Regions from separate parts of the Homo sapiens genome. Here all the other regions are linked to region 2. Evidence: promoter capture Hi-C in 16 types of primary human blood cells and fetal thymus (Javierre and others, 2016). All regions are on one chromosome and are shown on one strand. Each heading gives the region's core, a stretch centred on a gene start or on the middle of the fragment in contact. The rest is flanking DNA. Distances are from core to core; before and after follow the strand shown.

Region 1 (6,553 bases), core at 2,377-4,876, 690 kb before region 2:
CGCATGATTTTGATTATTGTGGCTTTGCAATAAGTTTTGGAAACAAGTCAGTAAGTATGAGACTTCCAGCTTTGTTCCTTTTCAAGATTGTTTTGACTATTCAGAATCCCTTGAGATTCCATAAGAATTTTAGAATGGAATTTTCTATTTGTGCAGAAAACATCACTGGGATTTTGATAAGATACATTTATTTTTATATTTATAGTGTTAATCACACATCTCTGCCCTTTATTAAAATGGAATTTCTGAACGTTAGTGATTTTCAGTCAATTCTTTTTTCCTCTAGCGTGTACAGTAAGTGTTCATAAACACTTAAAAATAATTTAGTTATCAGCCTCTGGGAAAATAGCTCATTATTTTAAATAATTAACTCAGAGCTTTTCGTCCTTGAGGTCCTAGCTCAAGAAAGCCAGCCTGGACTTTATAGACCAAATTAGCGCGCGCCCCCCCGCCCCTTTCTGTACTCCTTCATGGCAATTGTGCGTTTGTAATTGCATGCTTCTGTGAATATTTGTTCCTCCACTGCGCAGTGTGCTTCATGAGGGCAGTGTCTGTATCATTTTGCCGTACACCTGTTATGGTGGTTGGCACGTAGTAGATGCTCAAAAAATATTAATTGCCGAACCGTCTCGTAATTTGGACCCTTCCGGTTGAGTCTTTCTTTTCATAGCTAATTTCCCCTTTAAGAATATATACTAATTAAAATCAATTGATGTCCTTGACATACCCCCTGGGATTACAGAGGACAGACTTATTTGTCATGTAGACCTGAGCTTTTTAGAGTAAGTATGCTTTAAAAGTATAAAAAATGGTAACATTTTAATGTAATAAGGTAGTTGTCTTGAGTAAATATCTCTACTAATATTTGTTTTTATTTTCATGTGATTATGAAAAACTCTGACATGTGCATTTTATATTTTAGAACCAACCAGTTTTGCTTTTTGGACGACCTCAGGGAGATGGTGAAATTCGAATAACCACTCTAGACAAGCATACCAAACAAGAAAGGTAAGAAAAGAAGAATACTATTTTCAAAATAAGTAATTAGTGTCAGAAAACTGAGAAAACCTTAAAGACAATTTTTCCAGTGTGAAGTAGGGGGAAAAAAGGAAGAAATACAAGGAGACAGACCAACCCATGATTTCTAAATTTTTTAAATCTAGATTATCTTAGGTATTCCCACCTGGGTTCTGGTATCTATTAGTTTGTCTAAGTTATTAAGAAGGAAGTAACAAGTATAGATGATCAGCTAGGATACATTAAAATGAGAAGAGCGATAAAGTAAGAACAGATAACTACCATAAAAACATAATTGAATTTTTGGAATATATTTTTAAATAACCAAAAATAATAGAAAAATGCCCTAAGAAAGAAGATTAAGTGAGAATCACGTAGTAATATTTTCTTGAGGGAAATTTGCAGATGTAGTTCTTGAAGATTAGTAAGCTTGGCCCGGAGTCCTTAATTATGTATATATGTAATCATCAAACAGAGGTTTTTGTGGTTGACAATGATTGTTTTCTGGAATCTTTGGAGAAGCGAAAGCCAGTAGGGGGCAGCATCAGCTCTTGCTTCTTCCTCGATAACCCTGGCTCCATAGGTCCTTTAAACCTCTCTGGGAGAAATAGACGTTAAAAGTGATGCAAGTGTTACAGCCCTGTGAATGTGTCATTATCATTGTGTATAAAAAAAATGTGTGTTAATCACTGAGAGTTTATAAAAATACACAAGTATTGGTATTGGATGATGTGGTTATAAGGTTTATTTTCTCCCCCAAGTTACGTTGTTCTTAATAAGAAAAAAGAAATATTAACATGGAAATTTCACCATAACGTTTTCAGTTTACACTTGGCTCATATACCATTCAGTTTGGGTTTTTAGGTGGCCAATTAAATCATGAGGAACAATATAGAGGGTAAAAGCACAGTTTCCAAAATTAGACCTGTTTGTGAATCCTGTTACATGCCTCACTAGCAGTGTGATCTTGAGCAAATTATCTAACTTCTCTAAGCCTCAGTTTCCTCCTCAATAAAATGAAGATGGCAATGATACCTTCCCAGCATGTGGTCTTGGGGATTTAAATTGAGTCATGTTTGTGAAAGGGATGAACACTTCTCAAGGCATTCTGGCTGATTCCTAGTAACTTCAGTAGAAGCTGCTACGGATGTCATTAATATTATTCTATAGGTTTTTAGCTTTTAAATTAAAAAAGATAATTGCTCATGAACAAACTTTATGGCTTATCTCACTTGGCCCTTTCAACAACTCTGCAGTGTGCATTTTACTCTTACTATGATTTTTGCCCATTTTTAAAATGAGGGAACCAAAGCACACTGAGGCCATTTACAAGGTAAAGGGAAATTCCACACACAGTTCTTATAACCTCAAATACCCCGTTGTTTTCAGTGTATGATACTACCTGTTGTCTTTAATGCAAAGAAAAAAACATTTGGTTGCTTTATACCCAAAAAAATTAATAACCCATGTTTCTAAACCATTTAAAATCAATCAATCAATCTCTTTTTCCCAGGCATATCTTCTTATTTGATTTGGCAGTGATCGTATGTAAGAGAAAAGGTGATAACTATGAAATGAAGGAAATAATAGATCTTCAGCAGTACAAGATAGCCAATAATCCTACAACCGATAAAGAAAACAAAAAGGTGACTTTTTGGAAACTAATAACTGTAATTTACTTATAATCTTGAACATTAAGGAAAAGTATGATAATACATTAATGTGAGATATGGCTTATCAATCCAGATGTTTTTGTTTCTAGAGATTGATTAGGTACATAACTTTGTGAGAAATAACTGGATAATGCCACAGCCAGATCTGATCATTTCTAATGCCCTAATGATCCAGATAATAAAACGCATTTGGCATAGAAATTGTTATAGATATGAAGTTGACTACAATAAGCTTGATTGTTCAGTTTGTACATTGATAATATTGTGAGGAGTTTTTGGATAGTTGTGGTATTCTTGTGAATTTAGAAACATGTTATTAATGATACATATTAATCTAAGGAATATTAATTTTAACAGTGGTCTTATGGCTTCTACCTCATCCATACCCAAGGACAAAATGGGTTAGAATTTTATTGCAAAACAAAAGATTTAAAGAAGAAATGGCTAGAACAGTTTGAAATGGCTTTGTGAGTATTTCTATTTTTAAAAGTGCTTTTATTTTTACTAGTTAAATCACTTATGAATAATGAACAACCAATAAGTGTACTCTAATGCTTGTAGCATGTATAATGTGTACAGCGACGGGAATGTTTTTGCTGTGAGCAGGAGTGCTACTAGGCTGCTGGCTGCTTGATAACTTTGGTCTCCTAGGAGAGGAGTTTTGTTGAATTCCTTCAAAAAGAAGAAAGAGGGAGCTCTAATCTTCTGTTTGACTTTCTTATAGGCATGTTTTAGTTCTTTAGCTCTCAGCAGCCCAAGAAAATATTAATTATTCTAATGATAAACTTTTTATGTAATAACTATATTTTTAAATTATATACCTTTAAATAGAAATGCCTCCAAGTGTACATACACAAACAGATATGTAAATGCATATATCTTATTTTTAATAGAAAGATTGAATTATTCTGTTTTAACTCGCTTATTTGAATCTTGGCTAAAATGCTTCGTGTATTTAAGGAATGCTTTAAGGGCTTGATTTCTTTAAGTGGCTTTTAGTTCCACTGAGGAGGAAGCTCAACAAAGAGGTAGAAAATAAATCAACCCTGTTTCAAAAGGAATGGCATTCTGAGACGTAATAACCAAGAACAGGTCATTATAGGTGTTTCTTTTTAGTTTTGATGTTTAAGGATTGAAAGGTACACAATGACCCTTTTTGTAGAAATATATAGGATACCCTGAAATAAAACTGTTAGCAAAAGGGGAAATTAAGGAAAACTACATTTGGAATTTGTTTCATTTGGGTTCTAAGATTATATACCATTTGTTGACAAATTCTGTCAGTTTTTTTTCTTTGTTTTAAGAAATGCTCATGTTAATGTAAACTAGAGGTAGGAATAGGATGTTTTATTGTGGTTCTGAAATTAGGAAAATAAAGATTCTCAAGGTTATTTTATCTAACATTTTAAGAGACAGGATTCTATAGCCAAACTATTTACGCTTATAAAGATTATTTACCAGTTGTTGACAAATTCTATCAATTTTTTTTCCTTGTTTTAAGAAATGCTCGTGTTAATGTAAACTAGAGGTGGGAGTAGGATGTTTTATTGTGGTTCTGAAATTAGGAAAATAAAGATTCTCAGGATTATTTTATCTAATATTTTGAAGACAGGATTATATAGCCAAAATATTTAAGCTTATAGTCAATTCTGGGTTCATCTATTATCACTGCCATGAACTGGCTGCATAATGAAAGCTAAGTTATTTAACCTCTCACAGCCTCAGTTTCCTCATCTGTAAAATAGGAATGATATTTATTTCAAATTCTAGGTAATATGTATCAGCAGAGAGCTAGCCAAATAGTACAATAGCAGCTACAGCTATGTGATATTGAACAATAGGTGATACCTATTATTATTGCTATTATTATTAATAATAATTGCATTTGGGATTCTAGTATACTTACAAGACTTATAAAACTACATAACATATTCTAGTATACTATTTTTTCTTTTTAGGAAGTCACTTGGAGTTAAACAATTTGAATTGGAGTGATAGGATGATTGGGTTAGTGGTAATATGCAAAGACAGAGCTGATCTCGAGCCTTTGCTCTTATATGCTAGGCTTTTTTTTTTATGGGTTTCGTTTGGCTATATAATCTTCAGATGAGTGAAGGAATGTCTGCAGAGAAGGAAATTGAATTTCATGTCCTAGAGCAGGCAGGTTCCTTGGACTGTATGACAGGCATGTCAGTTACTATTTTGTTCAGTTGCCATAAAACAAACAGTTAATTTGTGGATATGAGAGACTTGATGGCCAGGTGTGATGGTTCATGCCTGTAATCCCAGCACTTTGGGAGGCTGAGGTGGGCAATTCACCTGAGGTCAGGAGTTCGAGATCAGCCTGGCCAACATAGTGATACCCCATCTCTACTAGAAATACAAAAATTAGCCGGGTGTGGTGGCACATGCCTGTCGTCCCAGCTACTCGCAAGACTGAAGCAGGAGAATTGTTTGAACCTGAGAGGCGGAGGTTGCAGTGAGCTGAGATTGTGCCACTGCACTCCAGCCTGGGTACTAGACTGAGACTCCGTCTTGAAAAAAAAAAAAAAGAGATTTGACAAGATAAATACTATTGTCAGCATTTGACTTCTCTCCTTAAGAGTGGTTACCTTGTAGTCTGAGATAGCTGCTAGAGCTCTAGGTATAAAATTTATGTTCTAGGTAGCAGAAAGTAATCCCACTTTTATGGATTCCTTGTAGAAATACCACTCGCTTCTGTTACATAATACTGACCAACGTATAGTCATGTGGCCGCACCTGCCGAGGGAGGCTGGCAAATAAAACCTTTATTCTAGGTAGGATTCTTCCTGGCTAAGAATTAAGGTTCTTTTACTATGGAAGAAGGGAGGAATGGGTAGTTGTAGGCAACCAGCAGCCACCGCCTTACAGGTTTATACATATAGGGGTATGTACGGATTTAAATTGTTCCACCACAATAAGGATGGCTGCAGCACATGCACAGAACCTGGGTTTCTTAATCTTTGATTGTTTTCCAAGCATCTCAGCAATAAAATAACACACCAGTAGAAGTAGTTTTTGTTGTTTTAGAGTTCCGTTGAATGTCTATGCAGATATTGGGAGGGTAGAAGTATCTTTTTGGAGAATTGCTCAGAGTTGAAGTTGAGGGCTTCTATAAATAAGGGTTATATTATATATGGTTAAATAAAATCTGAGCAGGCATCAGAATATTCCATTGTTTTATTTCCTTCTTCTTTGAAGTTCATCATGTAGGAAAGCCCTGATAATGTCTGCTTCCAGCTTTGTAAGACAGGTTTTGCCTGTCTGATGCTCATAAAAATAGAATAATATAGGTAAATCCTGAAGTTTGATTTTGCCTATGGTTCAAATTTTGCTGCTTATCCATTATTAAATCTGTAGTACTCCTTTTTGATAAGTCATGGAGAATAAAAGAAAATAACTCCTGCAGCATCCATGACAATGCATGAAGAACAGCAAGCCTTGTGTATCTCCACAGGATGGCTTCTTCCCAGTGTCTTTAGTATCAACACGAGTCCCTTGAGTTCCCCTAGAGTGCTCTGGACTATTGCTTTAAGGAATTCTGAAAAGGAAAGGGAGGCATTGGTGAGAGGGTGGAGGGAAATCAAGGGAGCTGATATTTTTAAGAGTGTTGAAATGCTTGCCATTTCTATTTACAGAAGATGGCAATTCTGTTTATAGGATGATTGGATCATTTTTATTTAAAATTATTGCAAATCACTGTTAAGGCACTTAAAATACTATGTTAAGCCTCTAAATTAGGGCTCTTAATTTAGAACATTAAATAAGGCCATGGAAAAGCATGAACACTAATGAACAGTAAGTATCTGGTGAACATAAATATTCTCCCCAGAGGTGACCTA
Region 2 (5,983 bases), core at 1,438-3,937:
AATTTTGTACATGTATATCTCTCCATGATGGAAGATCTGTGTTATATACAACCAAAGTTTAGCAAATTAGTTTTTATACTCTAATACTTTAATATGCAATGAATAAAAGGGCAGAAAATTCAGAATTACAATAAATGTTAGGCTATTTCAGAACACCAGTTTTTCACACCTATTTTCTTAGCATACAGAAGCTCGAAAATCATACATTAAGCATAGTTTGAATTGTCCTGAAGTTATATTCTGAAGGGGCTGTAACACTTAAGAACTAATAATATTAAAAAGGCAAAAGCATTATAACTCACAGCACACAAGACTTTTTACCTCATCTATAAAACGTGAGAATGTCAATGTTTTATTGGCTACAAGGATAAGGAAGGAAACATCAGAGAAATAAATTTGATAACAAGATTCACACTTCATTACAAGTGATTTTCCTAAATTCACAACTTTCACATTTGGCTGAGTGAAAGAGAAAAACAAAACAAAACAAAACAAAACTGAAAAGGGAACTTTCACTACTTGTAAGTAGGCCAACTCACATGATCCCTCCAAATGAGAGAGTTTAAATGAGAATGAGTATACTTTTCTAGCTGGGAAAATATTTTCCTTAATTAAGTGAGTTTAAATAATTTACCCATGGTGATGAATAAGCCCTTGGGCTAGGCTCAGAAACCTCCTCTACCAGCCTGTTTCATAAGAATTACACAAATATTTTTATGGGACATACAAGAAATATTTTTTGGTTATAATAGTAGAGACAAGAATTTTTAAAAATCCATACTATTTCTTTCAGGTCTCTCTCTTAAATGCACCTTCTGAGTTTCTTAGGTATGCTGTACAATTACAAAGTCCATTTTACTTAACGGATTAATGTGTTCATCAACTTTAGCACCCTATGATGTATGTGGTCAGAGTAATGAGAACAGGGCTATTTAAACTGCTTCCTCATATCCTTCCCCTTAATTACCAGTAGTGAAGTTTACCTAGAAAACAATGAGGAAGAAGTACCATAGCCTACAGGCACCTAGGGAGGGGGAATTAATTCGGACTGAGAAAATATGGCTCTGGAGAGATACTAAAGTCGTACTGGAAATGTATGAAGTCTAAATGAACCCCTTTCTCCCCAGCTTCAGACTTAGATAAGGTGTGAGGTGTCAGGGATGTGCATGGACCCTTCAAAAACTGACATTTTCATCCGTGTTCTTCCCCCTCACTCCCCCGCGAAACAAAATATACGGAAATACAAGTGCTTGGTACTACATGCTTTTGAGGCTAAATGCCCAATAATAAGCACGCTGTATCCGTTGTTGAGGGGGATCACTTTTTAAGTAAACATCACCAGAAGAATCTCTTCAAATGGAGAATGAAGTCACTCTCCCTCCCTAGAGGCTATGAGGGAAAAGGGGGAGATATTCCCCCTACTTGCACGTGGGATCTCCCTTTCCCCTCCGACCTCGCTACGCCTCTCCCACGCAGGTCAGGCTGCTTTGGGAGGTAGCTGGGAGAAAAGGCAACGCTCAGTCCTCCATGGCAAAGTCTTTGGTCTTCTCCTCCTGGTCTCCCACTTTGTAGCGCAGCAGCACGCGCAGGCGACGGGGGTTGTCCCGGGAGGGCAGCAGCGTGATCTCTCCTGAAACGTCCGTGTCTTGCTCCACTTGCACCGGCTCGTTCAGGTAGAGGAGCGCCTGTTTCCAGTGAGTGGCCGGGTGAAAAGGCGAGGTGGACAGCACCAGGGGTTTCTCCGACTCCCCTCCAGGGAAGGTCACCTGGAACCAGATGGCAAAGCCATGCATGGGCGCCGAGCCATAGCAGCTGCAGCGGAAGCGCCCGCCCACTCCGGCCTCCAGCTCCTGCTCCAAGCCGGCGCGGGAGAGCTCTAGCTGAGCAAAGCGCTGCGGCCGGGCCAGCACGTCCTCGCCGGACAATCCCTGCACAACGATCTCCGAGTGGCCCATGAGACAGCGCGTGGCGAAGCCCTCCAGGCAGCTCATGTCCACACCATAGTGCTGCTTCACCTGGCTCCAGAAGCCCAGGCGCCATTCCAGCATCTGGTCGCTGATGGGGGCTATGAAGAGCTCGGCGGAGGCCGGCAGGAGAAGACCGCCCTCCTTCAGCCACTTGGTTCGCGCGTGGAGGACGGAGCTCAGCATGGACTCGTGCAGGAGTCCGTAGCCCATCCACTCGCTCACGATGGCATCCACCTGTTCCGGCAACTCTACAGTCTCCACTGGTCCCGGCAGGACGTGCACCCGGTCCTCCAGCCCGTTGAACCGCACCACCTCCCGGGCCTGTTGCCAGATGGCGCTGGCCTCTACCGCGTACACGCGCCGGGCCCCGGCCTGGGCACAGAAGATGCTCAGAATGCCGGTGCCCGCGCCCACGTCCAGTACCGTCTTGCCTCGCAGTGCTGCCCAGTTCCGAAGGATACCCAGGCGGTAGGCATCGGTGCGGACGCGGTCCGCGATCATCTCCTCGTGGACCGAAACGTCCGAGTAGCACTCGTAGTACAGCTGGTCCCGTTCCCGCTTAGTCCTCCGGGGTCGCTCCAGGGCCGCCTCCCGCTCCGCGCCATCTTCCTCTTCAGTTCCCTCCCCTCCTTCGCCGCCGCCCCCCGACTCAAGCTTTCTTTTCTTGGGCTGCGACATCTTGGCCGCTCTGCCCGGCTCCCGGCGGGCGTAGCGCGGCACGGCGCGGGCTCCAGGAAACGGGGGCTTCTGGGACTTGTAGTGCGCGCTCGTCCTTCCTACTTCCTGCGGGGTCGCCCGGCCGGCGGCGCGGAAGGTCTCCTGTGCCTGCTCACGGGAGCTGTTTTGTATTGCTCTTCTGGTGTCCTGGCATCCCTTTTCCCACCCACGACGCCCACATTCTGAGATCCTTTCATTCCCCCTCCCACCCTTAGCTCCTCAGTTTTTTGCTTTCACTCCCTTCCTGAAGTAGGCACGCACACTTAAGACTAATAATCCACCTTTGTTTCTTCTGCTGAACTCACCTCTGTTTTTTTTGTTTGTTTTTCTGTTTTTTGTTTTTTTTGAGAGGGAGTTTCGCTCTTGTTTCCCAGGCTGGAGTGCAATGGCGCGATCTCCGCTCACCGCAACCTCCGCCTCCTGGGTTCAAGCGATTCTCCTGCCTCAGCCTCCCGAGTTGCTGGGATTACGGGCGCATGCCACCAGGGCCGGCTAATTTTGTATTTTTGGTAGACGGGGTTTCTCCCTGTTGGTCAGGCTGGTCTCAAACTCGCGACCTCAGGTGATCCGCCCACCTCGGCCTCCCAAAGTGCTGGGATTACAAGCGTGAGCCACCGCGCCCGGCCTAACTCACCTCTGGTTTTATTCCACCGAATTAACATGGCAGCACCATCCACCCACTACCGCCTTAACTGGACAATTGTAGCTCTTAAAGTGCTCCAGCTGTGGCAATTTAGAAACTGCACTACGCATTTCTTTTTTCTGTTTTCAGTGCAGTTAGAGTGCAAATGTAACAAAATTAAAACCTAACAATGCAAAATCTTGGTTCTGATTCCAGTATGACCACTAATTAGTTGAGTGATTTAGGGCAAATAATAGAACTTCTCTGGCCTTTAGTTGCCCATTCACCCACCAGCGAATCTTCATTGCAGTTGGGGAAGAACTAGGTTTCTGGTTCTACTTAGAAGAATAGTTACTTGGCTTTCGGCTCTGCTCTGATAATTCTGTGGCTCTCTTAAGAGTTAAATCCTGAAAAGTGCAGACTCAAGAGCCATGTGATACAAGCAAACTCGTTGCTAGGTGTATTCTATATATATATGCGTTTTTTTCTCTCAGAAATAACGGAATCAATTTCTTTTAATCACTTTCTCAATGCAATTCATTTTTTCCTGTGTTTTCTTGTCCGGGCAATATTGACACTCTCCTCTTTCTCTTATATTTTTCTTGTAGTCAACCATCAGCTGTTACTCTCTTTTTGTTGTCCATAATGGAAATAAAATATGTTTTTAAATATGTGTGGCATCTGTATGGGTGTCCGTGTTATTAACAAGGTGGGCATAATGCCATTTTCTGCCAGCTTGAAAAAAAAGTCACTCAGAGTAAAATGGATTTTTATTTTCTTGTGGTCTTGAATTATGTCCTTGTAACCAATAGGCCTGTATTCCTTGTCTGGGATCAAAGTTCTTTCATCCTATTTTCTCTATTAATCTTTCATTAGCAGAATAGGTTTATTGATATGGCATCCTTAGCTGTACTCTACTTCTAACTCAAGACTCTCCATCCTGGCTGCTTATTAGAATTCTCTAAGGAGCTTTTTAAAAAATACCGATGCCTGGGTCTACCTCAGACCAATTAAATCGGAATCACTCCAGTGGAACCTGGGCTTCTAGTTTTTAAAAGCTCCCCAGGGAATTCTAATGGGCAGCCAGGGTGAGAACAACTGTTTCTCACTAAAATGATCTTAGTTAAATCTTGCTTCGTTATTTTAATTGGGTAAATTGTATTTTTTTCAGTGGCCTGGGCTCAACCATTTAAGGCTAAAAACCTTGAAGTATTTCTTCTCTTTTTCTGCCTTGGTTTAATATCTTATTTTAAGATAATTGAGGCCCAGTGTAGGACATCAGATTAGAGTTGTAAATGTGACCACTTTAATATGTTACTTTTATTAATAGGTTGTTACTTAGTGTATACTTTTGCCATTCTTTCTTTCCTCAAAATGTCACCTTTTCCTTTTAAATACATTCATTCCTTCACCCAATTTTCAATTCACTTCCTTATGGTCTCTTTTAAGAAAATTCTGAATATAAGTTTCACTGGTTCTACCTCCAAAATATATCTTGAATCCATCTGCTTTTCTCCATTTCTATTGTCAACACCCTAGTCTAATCTTCCATATTGACTTGCCTGAAAATTAGTCTCCTAAGGGATCGCTCAGCTTCTAATCTCAACCCTATCTAATCCCTTCTCTACATAGCTGAAAGAATAAGCTTTTATAAAACCCATTGGGCCATGTCATTCTTCAGTAACTTCCCGTGTTAGTTAATGGAACAATTCAGTAACTTCAGGTAACTTCCCATCTCATCTCATACCATTTTTCCCAACTCTTCATTGGGCTCAAGATATACTGGTTTCTAATAACACATTTCTTTCCTGTGTCAGGTCGTCATGCATACTCTTCTGGTGCTGAGAAAATTGTTTTTCTCCTTAGCACTTCACTTTAGTGGCTTCTCATCCTTCATGTCTCAACTTAAATGTTACCTCATGAAAAAGGCCTTTCCTGGCTTCCTTAAATAATATTTTCAAACCCAAGACACTATTTTGTTCCCTCCCAGCATTCATTATTATCTGTATGTATTTAATTAATTTATTTGTTTTCTATACAATATCAACTCCAGGAGACTTGGACTTTTGTATTCCCACTATTGCAGTCCTTAGCACTACAACAGAAGCTGGCACATAGAAAGTGCTCAATAAATAGTCTTGAACAAAGTCTATTGTGGATGTAGAGAGTTTTGCTTCATTAGTTCAATGTGACAATGTGACTTGGTAAACTCTGAGATAGATCCAGATATAGATAGAATGTGGAATGCTCCCAGAAATGAGAATAGTATAAATTTTAAATACTGTTAATGCTTCTAGATAGAATAGTGGTAAGCACCAAACATTATCCCTAGAGCAGATTAAAAAAGGTCTGTGGCACTTTCCTTTCCTGCCCTTTTATTTGATATAGAGAAGGAGTTCTTTACTGATCTTTTGTACCACAGTGAGATGTTTTAAGTAGGAAAGGGACCTAGATCATAGCCCTTCCCTAAGCCGTGCGGCTCAGCAGCAAACCACCTGCATGGGAGAAGAGTTGGAGTTCTGCTGGCAGAGCATTCTTAGTATTTTCATTTCAGCGATCTGCTTGCCACGTCTATTCAATGCTCAAACCCAGTTTTTCAAACAAATGATCTTGAAATTTTAATTTAGTGCAACTTGACCACCATTAAGAAGAAATAATAGATCAGAAAATACTAAAT
Region 3 (6,040 bases), core at 3,376-5,875, 720 kb before region 2:
TCAAGGAGTAAAATGCATTGCTATATAAAATACATAATAGAATAGCAATAATAAAAGACATAACCGTAGTACTGCTATTGCTATTTTTCTTGTTATTAAGTAGTGATATATGCTGGGACCACAGTGTAAAGTAGAATCAGAGGCAGATTTCACCCCATAGCTTTCTAACAGTGATATATTAGGATAAGATGCATGCTAAAGTAAAGCAATGTAGTTAATTCAAGGGTCTGGATACTGTACTGATTATTCCAGAACCTCCCCAAAGTTAGACTTTTCGCTTAATAGTGAATAATTTTGGTATTTTAGCAAGTGACTATTTTTATTTTGAATTAGTTATTTTTGATAAATTTATTAGTATTTGTTCATTCTTGATCTTCTGAGTTTACAAACTCACTGACAATGTTTTATCTTTATTATGGGGAATTAATCAATATCAAGTTTTATCTGATTGGTTGTATATGTTTTGACATTAGATGTTCGACATAGTTGACCAGGAAGAAATTGCATGAAGGGTTTCAATTGTATTTTCTTTTCTTTTTCTAGTCTCACAGCAGGGGGCTACGGTTAGAATATACAATTTTGGGGTCAGTAAATTAGCTCATCTAGTCACCATGTCCTTTGCTTCTTTCTAACCCTTTAGAACTATCCTAAAGAGTTTTGCTCCCTTCTCTTTTGTTTATGTAACAAATTTTCTTAATTTTTTAAAAATTAACAAATAAAAATTATATGTATTGATCTGTGCAACATGTTGGTTTGAAATATGTATACATTGTGGAATGGTTAACTGGAGCTAATTAACATATGTATTGCATCACATCTTTTTTATTTTATTGTGGTGAGAACGCTTAAAATGTAACCTTTTTGCAGTTTTCAAGAATGTAATACATTGTCGTCATCTATATGTAATTCAATTAAATGTTATCTTTGTATAATAACTTTATTTTACATGATAATAAAAATTCACATTTACTGAGTTAAGCATATGATAGGCATGATCTCATTTAATTCTTTTAGTAACTCCATGAAGCAGTTAGCTATTATCTGCATTTTACAGAGGCTAGTAAAGGTGAGCATAGCTGAAAACTTGTGAGTCAGGGCTCCAGGTATTCTTACTCCAAAGCCAGGAGTTTCTAACTACAACCATATATATATATGGTACCAGTTCCTGAAGTGGGTGAGATATAAGTGTATGTGTGGCTGGTACTCTCATGAACCTTCTACAGAGTACTGGAGAGACTTCATTTTTATGTTCCTGTCTCTGAAGTAAGGAATTAGATTACCTTAATTTAGAAACAGATTTTTGCCTTTTCTCGCTTTTTACTATCATTCTGAATAAGCCTCATGTAGAACCTCTTTAAGTTGTGTTTGTTAAAATTTTGAGAGTTAGGATGCATTATATCTATTATCATAAAAATAAACTTTATGGCCGGGCACAGTGGTTCACACCTGTAATCCCAGCACTTTGGGAGGCCAAGGCAGGTGGGTCACTTGAGGCCAGGAGTCCGAGACCAGCCTGGCCGACATAGCGAAACTGCATCTCTACTAAAAATACAAACATTAGCCAGGCATGGTGGTGTGTGCCTGTAATCCCAGCTACTTGAGAGGCTGAGGCATGACAATCACTTGAACCTGGGAGGCAGAGGTTGTAGTGAGCCAAGATCGCACCACTGTACTCCAGCCTGCACAACAGAGTGAGACTCTGTCTCAAAAAAGAAACAAACAAGAATAGACTTTATGAGAAAAATACATTTTAGATAAATGGCTTTCTCACTAAGTCTTCGAAAGAGACAATCTTAGGACAAAAGATTGAAGGAAGGGTAAAGTTGCTAGCAGAGTATATTTAACATTTAGATTTAAGTACTGAAGATCTTTATAAGGAATCTTTGAAACATAATTAAGGTTAATTTAGAAAACTTTTTCTGAAAACACTCAGAATTAAATTAAGGCAATTTCCTTAAAGTTGGTGATTATACAGAATAGCTACTATTTAAATAGTTTACGTGCTAGCTTATTTAATCCTCACGATAATGTAATGATTGTTAATAATCTAACTATTATTATAGGCATTATCTAGAAGATGAAACAAAAGCTCAGAGAAGTTAAGTATTTTGCCCAAAAGTACTTGGCCAATAAATGGTAAGCTGAGGATTTAGACTCAGGTGGTCTGGCCCAAGAGCCCGCCCACAGTCTCACCTGCTTTGCTATATAGCAGGACTGTCCAATAGAACTTTCTGTGATGATGGAAATTTTTTGATAACTGTGTAGTTCATTACAGTGGCCACATGTGTGTGGCTACTGAACACTTAAAATGTGGCTAGTGCAACTGCAGAACTGGGATTTTTGTTTTTAAAATTTAAATTAATTTAAATAGCCTCATGTGGCTAGTGGGTACTATACTGGAGAATACAGCTTTCCAGAATCTTTCAGATTCTGTAAAAGTAGAGATACAAGTTGCTTGGGGCCACCCAGGCTAACTTTGTGTTATACTGATATAGAATCTGCAACTCAAATGGGTTAGTAATCTACTTAAAGTAATAAAGTAATTTATTACTTTAAGTAATAATTATAAAATTATAATCCAGGTGTTTATACTTCCCAATCACAGCCCTTCTCATTCTGCACATCTTTGACACCTGCAAATTTATGTTTCTGCTGCTATGGTTAATATTAGATTGAAAAAATTTTGGAAAAAGAAATCTTATATTTTCTGAACTACATATCTAATTAGTATTTTCCTCTTTTCTCAGGTTATAGAAACATTATCACGACTTTCTCGAACACCTATAGCATTGGCCACAGGAATCAGGTAAGCTCTGTTTTCGTTGTTCATGTGTCCCATTGAGTTCAGTGTAATGATTCTTTATTAAATGGTTACTATTTGTGAAGCATCTTGCACACAGGTACTATGTCTCATTCATGAAGAGTGCCTGGTATGTAAGTATCCCGTACACGTTTGAAATTAATTGAGCAAGGTAGAACTTATTGATAGAGTTGAATAACACATTGGCTAAACATTGTTCTCAATTCACAGGTGACTGTCACTGGTGTGGTTCTTCTTTTTTTTTTTTTTTAACTTTCCTCCAACATTTCTGTACATATGATTCATTAAAGTAAACACAAATGCTTAAGTAAATAAATATTTATAAGATGTTGTAATATGTTTATTTCCTATAGAGTAGATCATAATAACTCATAGCTTTTAGGAGTTTAAGAAATAATCAAACAAGTATAAAACATGTGTACAAGAATGTGTATTGAAGGTTCAGTAGTAAATTAAAAACCTGGAAGTAAATTGGTTAAATATAGTATGTCATCTCCTTGCAATAGAGTATTATGCAGTTGATAAGCATAAAAATATAGATGTGTATGTTGTGTTGAGCCTTTTCTGTTTCAGATACTACATACTTAAGTTAGATCAGTCAGCAAAGATGTATTATATAAGTAACATTAGGAAATAAAGCAAAACAGTCTCTACTCAGCCTGGTTTCATGGAAATGGATCAAATTTGTTTTTTACCTTCTTTATTCAGTGCTCCATATTTCTGTCTCTGGCCATCACAGCCATTTTTCTGTGTCCAGCTCACATTCACATTCTAAGGGAGAGAGGATCCAAGCAGGACTTAGTGGGGTTCTCTGCACTGGCTACAAAGCACAGTGAGCTCAGGAAAAATGCCCTGCTGGTACAGGACCTTTCTCAGAAATGGGCCATGAATTTGGCAGCTTTCTATGTATATGGTCTGTCGGCTGGATAAATGTTTAACTCCTAATTTGCTCTTCAATACATGCATACCTTTCATGTCAATATATATTTTATGTTATTATATGTAAAGATTTTTTTAAAGCATGATCAAATTTTTATGTATTGATTCTGAAAAAACGTAAGTCAAAATTTTTCTCCTTTTTTTCTCATCTATATTTTCTACAATGAACTTGCATAATAAAATGTGCCTTAATTTATAAAAAATGATTATGAGACTACATTTCTCACACACTGATTTATTTGAAAAACCTAGTCTCCTCAAATGTCTTCAGTATTAAATTAATCCATAAGTCAATGTGAAACTCTGCTTTTAATATAACTAGTAATTATTTAAAGCTTATTTATTATTTTGATGGATCCTCTGGTTTTTATGAAACATGTGATATGCTGGCTGCCTGAAAAGAGTAGAATTTTTGGCACAGTATGCTTACTGTGATTTTGTTAGACATAAATTTAAGGCAGTTATGAAAAAAGGACATAGTACCATGATGCAAACAAGGAAGCCACACAGTGGGAATAGGAGATACATTAAAGGTGATTTTCTTGAATAGGGAACAAAGAAAACACTCTATTCACCCCAAGGTCTGGTTGACTCATTTGTCTAATAAACGAAAATAAAACATACAGCTTAAATACCCTAAAGTCTGAGCAGAAATGTCAGGGTCAATGACCGTATATGTAAAGGGCACAATGTTTTTGTCTTCTACTAGTTTTCATCTACACTAGTGAACGGAGCCATGGAAGGATGATTGCTACCAAATTATTTGTTATCAGATCCCACAGCTGAAAAGAGAGGGTGCTGAAGGCAAGGGTACATGCACAGCTGTTTGTTGTCTGACTTGGGGTGCTGCAGTGGGTGAGGTGACCCTGCAGGTATGTGGCAGGTGGGAGATCAGATAAGCACGTTATTATGACCCCCTGCACATGTGACTGTGGTGACCAGCTGTAATTGCTTCAGATGATTTCAGGTGGCAGGTGTTACAGCCTCCCTAGGGGAACCCCAGACAAAGCCACTGAGCAGGCACTTTAGGGAAAGCCCTAGATATTGTTAGACATGGTGACTGATCTGACCATTTTGGCAGCAGACAACTTACATATTTAGTGAGGGTTAAGTGCGCAGCCTGATTGTTGCTCGTTCACTCATGGGTTTGTTTTTTTGTTTTTGTTTTTTCTCCTCTTCCTAGGCCCTTCCCAACAGAAGAAAGCATTAATGATGAAGACATCTACAAAGGCCTTCCTGATTTAATAGAGTATGTTGAAAATTTCAAGCAAAATTTAGCCACTGCCAATTTATGTGTCCATTGTGGGTTTTAACTGTGGATGTTAAAGTAAGCTATCTGAAGGAGGAAAAGTGGCTTAATTACTGATTAACCTTAAACTGGCGATGGAAAGCTTTACAAGAAAATGTACTTCAACTGGTTTTTAGTTCCTGTTTTGTGTCCCCATGAAGAATAAAGAAACTTACTCTAATGAAGTAAAATTTCAAAGTTTCTCAAAGGCATAACAGAAGTAGTAGATAAAACTGGAGTTAGGGAACAATTTAAAAGAAATAGAATCTGCTGCTGGAGTTGTGGGACACATAGTGCATGCCTTATAAGTTCAAGGAAGGGAGAGATAAGTGTGGGTTGGAGCTATTCGGGATGTTTTAGTAGGCGGTGTTTGTTCTGAACAGAGAATCTTTTTGGGCTCTATTATTTAATAGTCAAGAGAGGCAAAAGGTCCTTGCAGCCGATTATCTTCTGCTGATTGAGTGACTTGTACAGATTACAAATAAATATATGCGTGATCGTTACTCCTCAAGGAACTGATGACATGGATCAGGCATGTTTGCAAAGAATCATAATAAGAAATAGATTATGCCCCAAGACAGATTCAAATGCTATGGAACTTCATCCATTCATTCATCTATCCTTCCTCATACACCCAACACACTGGGCTTGTTTTAGCCTTGTGACCTTTACACCTGCTATTCTTTCTGCCTGTTTGACTGATCCCTCAGCGTTCAAGTTTTTGCTTAGATTTCCCTACAGAGAGGCCTTCTCTGACTATCCTGTCTAAAATTGCCACCACCCCCTTACATTGCTGTGTTTTTACAGCATTTGCCAATGCCTGAGACAGTCTTGGTTTGCTTCATTTATTGTTTGTCTCCTCATTAGAAGGTACACTTTTGTGAGGTGTGGGACTTTGCCTTGTTCATGGCTGTATTCCTAGAACTTCACAGTGTCTGGCATATAGTAGGTACTCAATAAGTATTTGTTTTCCAAATTAATAAGTCAAAACT
Region 4 (6,862 bases), core at 166-2,665, 540 kb before region 2:
TGTTGAAACAAGCAGGCTGAGCACAGAGAGAATTGGACCAGAGGAGGTTCTTCATAAAATGAAAACTTGGAGGGAGGTGGCAAGTGGATGCACAAATAATGAATGACAGACACAGCTGAGACATGATAAAAGCACGCACAGGGGCTCTCCACATCTCTGCAAGACGTACCAGCTTGAGCTTTCACCTGCAGAACTTCCTTGGATGGTAATGAGGCTGCTCCACAGTGTTATAGTTACTATGGGACTTAAAAAACTGCTGCAGAGCCAAAGATAACTGCCAGCCTTGCAGACTTTGAAAGTAGCAAAAGTAACTCCCATCAGAGGAGACAAGCAAAGAAGATGAAAGGAATCGTCACTGAAAAGGGCCAATGAATTTAGCTTTGTGTCACCTGGGTTCAGCTCAAGGCAGTTCTTCAGAAGCCAAGGTTAGATGTGAAAAGCCAGTAATACCACAGTGACCTGGATTGGTAGACATAGATACATGAGTTCCTATCTGCATGTAAAAGCTGTGATTATAGTGAAAGCAATAGAGACCCAGCATTAAAAAAAAATTGTGCCAGAGAGCCTTAAAAGTTTCTACAATGATATTCTCTGGAAAAATAACTAAAAGTACTTGTCACAGGACTAAAGTAAGCTTTTCTTATATGTTATGTATAAAATCTCAGCAATGCCACTATTAGAGACACGTGCATATGTGTTTTCGTCTCCATATCTGGGCATCTTTTGTAAGGAAGCACGTATCACAGCGTGTTAAAGGGAAGGGACTAAGAATTTTAGCAAAGCAAAATGAAACTAACAAACATTAGCAAAGGATGTAATTATGAAAAGAAAAACAAGGAGCTGGAAAAAAAATCTCAATATCAGAAAAGTGCTTTTATCAAGTTTAGTAAATAACTATAAAAATTGCTGAAGAGGCAGCTGAACTAATCTGAAGCTACCCCTCCATTTTGTTTCTGTTCATTTGTTGAGCAAATTTATATTGAGTCCTTACAATGTGAAATCACTTTCTGGAGAACTCAAAAGGACTTAACCATTCTAAAAAGAAGCTTAAGAATCAGTAAATACGTCTACACCAAGAACCTCACCATAGAGCAGTCCTTGGAACCTAGGCTGGGAAATGCCACATGGATACTTGGTCAGAAGGAATGGCTCATGTTTTAGCAACCTGAACTTCTGGAAGGAGGTAGAAGATGATTAATTGGTGTGAAGGTTTCTCAAAATCAAGATCATACAGACTTCATGGAGTTACCTTTTATCATGTTGGAGTCAAATAACACACTTGTCTATTATAAGTAAGGAGTGATCTGTGGATTTGAGTTGTTTCTTAAGAATAGTTCAGTATCCTCTTGTTATTGGTATTAGTTTACTCTTCTATCTGTGAAACACAATAGGGCCTGGAATTAAATTTAAATCTGGAAAGTGTGTAAAACATAAGCAAACTCCAGAGCTTCTTTTAAATTAACTGGTTTCTCAGTGAGAAGATTGGCCTTAGGTGGTTTTGACCTAACCTTTTTCCCTTGAGTTTCAATAGCTTGGTTAATCAGAATCTTTGTCTTTCTTAGTCATTAAATTCAAATCCTAAATGAATTTCTGTATCCAGATTACAAGGCATTAATTTTGTTCTAATTTTCATGTATGCGAGACAGTCCATGTCCAAATGCTGTTTATAAACCATCTCCATTGCCTGTTTCCTTGGTAATTGGAATGACTGGCTCTCACTCATTATTTTTGAGAGACTTGAATTGTTGACACTGCTGTGTCAGTGTGAGATAAGGAAAGCTTAGCGATTTCTTTTGTTTAGAGTCTTCTTATTTACTTGTTGTACCTGAAGGTCAATGACTGTTAAGGCAGGGGTGGATTAGACTAAAATACAGAAAGCATAAAGGCAAATTGGAAAAGATCCATGGTGACACTATTTAGTTCTACCCAGTTAGAAACATGTAGGAAGATTTACCCTCGTAAGACTGTAAAAATGGAACTAAAATATCTTCCATGCTTAGTGAAGTGATAAAGAGTGTTTTGCAGCTTACTAAGTAAGCCGCATGACCCTAGGCCTTGGAAAACTCATTTTTTCTTCCATAAAATTTGGGGGTGGGCGAGTATTAAATAATCACCAAATCATTTTTCAGTATGATAATTCTATGGTTTCTAGCCAAATTCACATAAATTGTAATTCATAGCAAAAATCATAAAATTCATATTACCTATAACAAAATTACGTTGAAGTTCAAAGCTATGGCTTATAATTCCTTTCAAGTTTGTTTTCACATTTGCTAAAGAAAATAACACATTTTACTCAATTTAAGTAATAAGACTAGGAGAAACTTCGGTATCGTTTGTATCAGTGACATTATGTATACGTGTGTGTGTGTGTGTGTGTGTATTCCAGAGACCTCACAAAATTTTGCTTTATATTTTAAAAAAATGAATAGCAATATTGGTCACTAAGTAGAATTTAATTCTATACCTTGTCTGCGCAAAACATGTTAAAATTCACCAAAATACAAATGCATATTCTGATCATTGAAACCATTTTGGAGATACAAACTTCTACATGGTCTTTTGTTTCTTTTTCTCTTTGCTTTTAAAGGTCGGTCTGATTACAAATTTCTTGCTTCAACAAGGACCCACATTATCTGGGCCCAAGGAAGAAAGGAAGAAATACATATTTTTCAAGTTATAGATATAATATTTGGAAGACCCTAACATTTTAAGTCTAAGAAAACAAAGTTCCTAGTACATCATGAACACATAGCAAAAACTATTTCACTTTTGCCTCCCTGTTTTTTGTGTGTGTGTTTTTTGGTGTTTTGTTTTGTTTTGTTTTGAGACAGAGTTTCGTTCTTGTTGCCCAGGCTGGAGTACAGTGGCAAAGTCTCGGCTCACTGCAACCTCCACCTCCCAGGTTCAAGTGATTGTCCTGCCTCAGCCTCCCAAGTAGCTGGGATCACAGGCACCTGCCACCACACCTGGCTAACTTTTTTGTATTTTTGGTAGAGACAGGGTTTCACCATGTTGGCCACGTTGGTCTCAAACTCCTGGCCTCAGGTGATCCGCCTGCCTCAGCCTCTCAAAGTGCTGGGATTACAGGCATGAACCACCATGCCTGGCTCTTGTTTTTGTATTTACATTTGCTAGGCACTATTTGCTAATAGTATGATACAGTTAAGAGCACAAACTTTGGATAAAGGCGCTAGCTATGTGACTTTGCCTAAGTTCACTCACCTCACTGATATTTGAGCTTCAATGGGAATAAGGCCCATTTCATAATGTTCTTGAGTGAAAGTTATAAGGAGCCATGTAAAGGGCCTGGCACATGGGATAATGGGGTAGCTGTTACAGTTTTTCACATGTATTAGGTACTTTATATATTCTTTGTTATCATCTGTGAAATGGTTTATTAGCCCCATTTTATAGGTGAGATTGAAAAATTGCCATTTCCCTTATCCAATGCTTTAGCCAAACTATGCTGCTTTTAGCTTATGAAAGGTGGTCTTTGTTTATCACCTTTATGTCTGTTTCCAGCCTGCCTGCTCTACCTAAAATGATCTTTCCCTGGTTCCTGGCTATTGTAATTTTACTAGTTCTTCAGTTTAAGCCAAGCTACTTGTATTACAAAACTTTCTGTCACCCTTCCCATTGGATACACAAAACAAAGTTCTCTCTCCTGCCTTTGAACTTTCCCTTCCAAGATGAGAATTCCTCAATGGCAGGAGGCTTATCTTTATAATCTCTGTGACCTCTGAAGCTCCTGGTACAGTGCATTCCACAACATACTCAAGTTTTGTCATAAATAATAAATCATTGATGATTCTCTTTTTCTTCTTTCAGCTGATTTTTGGACTCATTGATTTGTCTGGGGAACTTTGAACATAACCACTGAACAGAGATATTAAGTTGATGGCAGTGGGATTTTTAGAAGAAACAAGTGGTTTTTTTTTCTGTTTTTTTTTTTTTATTTTTTATTTTTAAAAAGGCGCTCCAATAGAAACATTGAATAATTAAGTTAAAAGTGATTTTTCGTTTATTTTCATTTCAGATATTTATAAGAAATTTTATATCTACAGGACTCATTTGATGATAAGATACATTTTTATTGTGAATTATTATTCAGTTTCAGTTTACAGTAGAGAGATTCAGATTTCTGCAGAATCTATGAAACCAACCTGCGAAATTTTCTGAAACGATAGTCTGAAGGATGGCATGTGGTTATTACATTAGGTTTAGATGTATTTAAGACAAATTATTTATAAGAGAAAATTGGAAAGAATTACATTGACCTCTGTGAGTAGCAGATATGCGGAGCTATGACAGGTACTATACTTCATCAGAAACTAAAAACAGTCTCAAGTACCATTTGTGCTTTATCAACTTTTGTTTACCACGAAAAAGCATAAGTTTGTTTTTCTGCCATTTTGAAAGAAAATAAGTGCAGGAAAGTAGAAATTGCTGTATATTCAGCAAGCAGCTGTTCCTTTTATTTTGGTTTAGAAAGGCAAGTATTTCATAAATAAGAACAATAATTACTACTCTGAAACTGAGGTTTAGTATTGTTTCTTTTCATTTGCTACATCTGACTGAAGACAGGATGTTCTCCATCTGTGAATAACAATAGGGGGTAACTCATATTATTAATGGCCTGAGTAACAAGGACAGCTATTAGGTAGGTGTCATGTACATCCAGACAGCAGGGAGAGATTATCATTTGCTTAATCTTCCATATACCTATGGAAAATTTAGCATTAAATTGGTCATCCTTATTGTATTTATGTGCTCAGGAGTTCATGTGTTTGAGAACAAAAGTATCCTTATCAAAAATATGTTGGATTCTTTTTTCCAAAGGAACTTGTGGAGTACTACAAGCATCATTCTCTCAAGGAAGGGTTCAGAACCTTAGATACAACTCTGCAGTTTCCATACAAGGAGCCAGAACATTCAGCTGGACAGAGGGGTAATAGAGCAGGCAACAGCTGTAAGTATTGTAATTGAGAATACAATTTGCTGTCACTTAAAAATTAGGGGCACAATAACATTAAACATCTTCCTTCCAAATTTTAAAATATAACCAATGGATGCGCTAATGCATGAGCAAGGACTTCTTTTCTGGAGTTAAGCAGAGTCAGATGGACCAACAGGCTTGTGAACATGTCTAATTATAGATCTTTATGGCAAATTAAAAATTATGTTTATGTCCAAAAATCCAGCAGAAACGTAAAAGATATGCTAATATTTACATTTCATACTTTTCATTGACTTTTATATTAACTAAACTCTTTTTAACTTACATGTAATGTGTGAGGTCATAATTCTGTTTGAGTAATAGTATTTAAGCAGGGCTGGTACACAGCTCTCCAGTTAGCCTAGTATCTCAAATCTGCTTATGGTCTATTTCAATGACTACTTTAAGAATTTTGACATTACTAATGTGTTTTTTTGGATGCTAGTATTTCTAAAACCATACATTGGCCACTTTCTTTCAGAATGAGCTGTGTGCTACAACTAATCACAAAAGATTAGCATGCAAACAAAAGCATGTTATGGTTGGACTGTGAGTCTAAGTCGAAAACCTTTTCTCTCATCGTTTAATGTTACATAATCTTCCTGGAGATAGAGCATGTAACAAAAAAATTGAAAAATGTCATCAAGAAGGTGTGATTTTATTTTCTTAATCTGATATCACTTTATTTTTTTTAAATAAGTGTTTTGGGGAAGAAGTGAATACAATTTCATTACTCTTAGAATCTTTAGCCTAAGCAACACTGGGATATCTAGAGGTATTTGAAAACAGAATTTGCGTCGGTTTAATATAACTTTATATTTTTCCTTGAAAGCAGAAACTGAAAGGGGAACAGGTAATGCTCTGGGTTTCAACAACATCAGTGAAGTTTTATACATTTCAATTCAAGTAAACAAACAATCTGTCACATCAACTGACATATTTTTTATTTAAGTAACTTAATATATGTTTTCCTCACAGTGATCAATGATGTATGCCTAAGCTCGTGCAATGAAAGTAGAGCGAACTTTATGTTAAAACTTTAAACACCTATTAGATTTTATGGTGTTATTTTTTAGCCCAAGATTACCTGATTATTTTAGATTCTCAAATAGGCATAATTTTTGCTCATTCAAAAATGGAAGTTTTCTCCAAAAAAACAATTTTCCTACCAATATCTTAAAACTCTGTTGAAGCTATGACATTTCCCCCAGCATGAAACATGTAATTTTCGAAGCTCTGTTTCTTTGCCTTCCCAGCAGCAAGAGATAATAAAAGTTGCCAGGGAGGTCAGTTAGATGAAAAATCCTGTTTGAGTTGTTCACTTAGCTCTAGAGAGCCTAGGAGGGAGAAGTGGGGCAGACAGGGAGAACAGATGTCCCATATTAGGTAGGAAGGTCACTAACCCTCATATTTCACTCTGTGGTTCACTCCCAGCCAATTCCTTAGTGTTTAGTACATGGAGGTACTCAGAGAATGTAGCCCGGCAATGAATGAAGTTGTCTAACTTAAAATTATGTCTCATGTTTAATGAAGTATTTAATGCTCAACTTGTTTGACAACTAAGAAGGGAATTACAGGACTTTTTCTTAAAAAAAAGCATAGCCAGTAGAATGTCTTTGAATATCCATGCTAGCCCCAGATAAATTTTTCAGCAAATAAACTCATGAGTTCAAACTTCCCTATCCAGTCTTTTTAAGAGATTCTGACAACTTGAATCAAGCCACTAAAACTTTTTTTTTGTAATTGTGAAGGGAAAGCAAACAATTCATTGAAAATTTTATATTTGTTATCGTTTGGTTTTGTTCATCAATTATTCATTCATTCGTTAAACAGATATATATTAAACACCTAACACATACAAGG

The links. Contacts are between HindIII fragments. The CHiCAGO score rates a contact against its expected background, and 5 or more counts as called.
Region 1: a contact is called between a fragment that was not itself captured here and the fragment with the promoter of PRMT6 in region 2, in 1 of 17 cell types (fetal thymus). The highest score is 9.0, in fetal thymus.
Region 3: a contact is called between a fragment that was not itself captured here and the fragment with the promoter of PRMT6 in region 2, in 1 of 17 cell types (fetal thymus). The highest score is 5.7, in fetal thymus.
Region 4: a contact is called between a fragment that was not itself captured here and the fragment with the promoter of PRMT6 in region 2, in 1 of 17 cell types (fetal thymus). The highest score is 7.6, in fetal thymus.

What each region holds. Positions count from the first base shown.
Region 1 is chr1:107,745,572-107,752,124 of GRCh38, reverse strand. VAV3 (vav guanine nucleotide exchange factor 3) reads left to right here. Exons shown (of 27, transcript NM_006113.5): 13 at 923-1,008; 14 at 2,531-2,663; 15 at 3,048-3,157. Among named protein-coding and RNA genes, the nearest start is that of MIR7852, 150 kb to the left of the region's middle. The HindIII fragment of the contact is 1,404 bases long and covers 2,925-4,328 here.
Region 2 is chr1:107,053,378-107,059,360 of GRCh38, reverse strand. PRMT6 (protein arginine methyltransferase 6) reads right to left here and starts at 2,687. Exons shown (of 1, transcript NM_018137.3): 1 at 67-2,687. The coding sequence starts at 2,645. The coding sequence ends at 1,518. RefSeq lists enhancers at 1,886-2,095, 2,106-2,235, 2,246-2,385, 2,406-2,455. The HindIII fragment of the contact is 2,330 bases long and covers 2,624-4,953 here.
Region 3 is chr1:107,776,200-107,782,239 of GRCh38, reverse strand. VAV3 (vav guanine nucleotide exchange factor 3) reads left to right here. Exons shown (of 27, transcript NM_006113.5): 3 at 2,748-2,806; 4 at 4,944-5,009. Among named protein-coding and RNA genes, the nearest start is that of MIR7852, 120 kb to the left of the region's middle. The HindIII fragment of the contact is 1,056 bases long and covers 4,098-5,153 here.
Region 4 is chr1:107,594,322-107,601,183 of GRCh38, reverse strand. It overlaps VAV3 (vav guanine nucleotide exchange factor 3), which reads left to right. Exons shown (of 27, transcript NM_006113.5): 25 at 4,843-4,972. Among named protein-coding and RNA genes, the nearest start is that of MIR7852, 300 kb to the left of the region's middle. The HindIII fragment of the contact is 733 bases long and covers 1,049-1,781 here.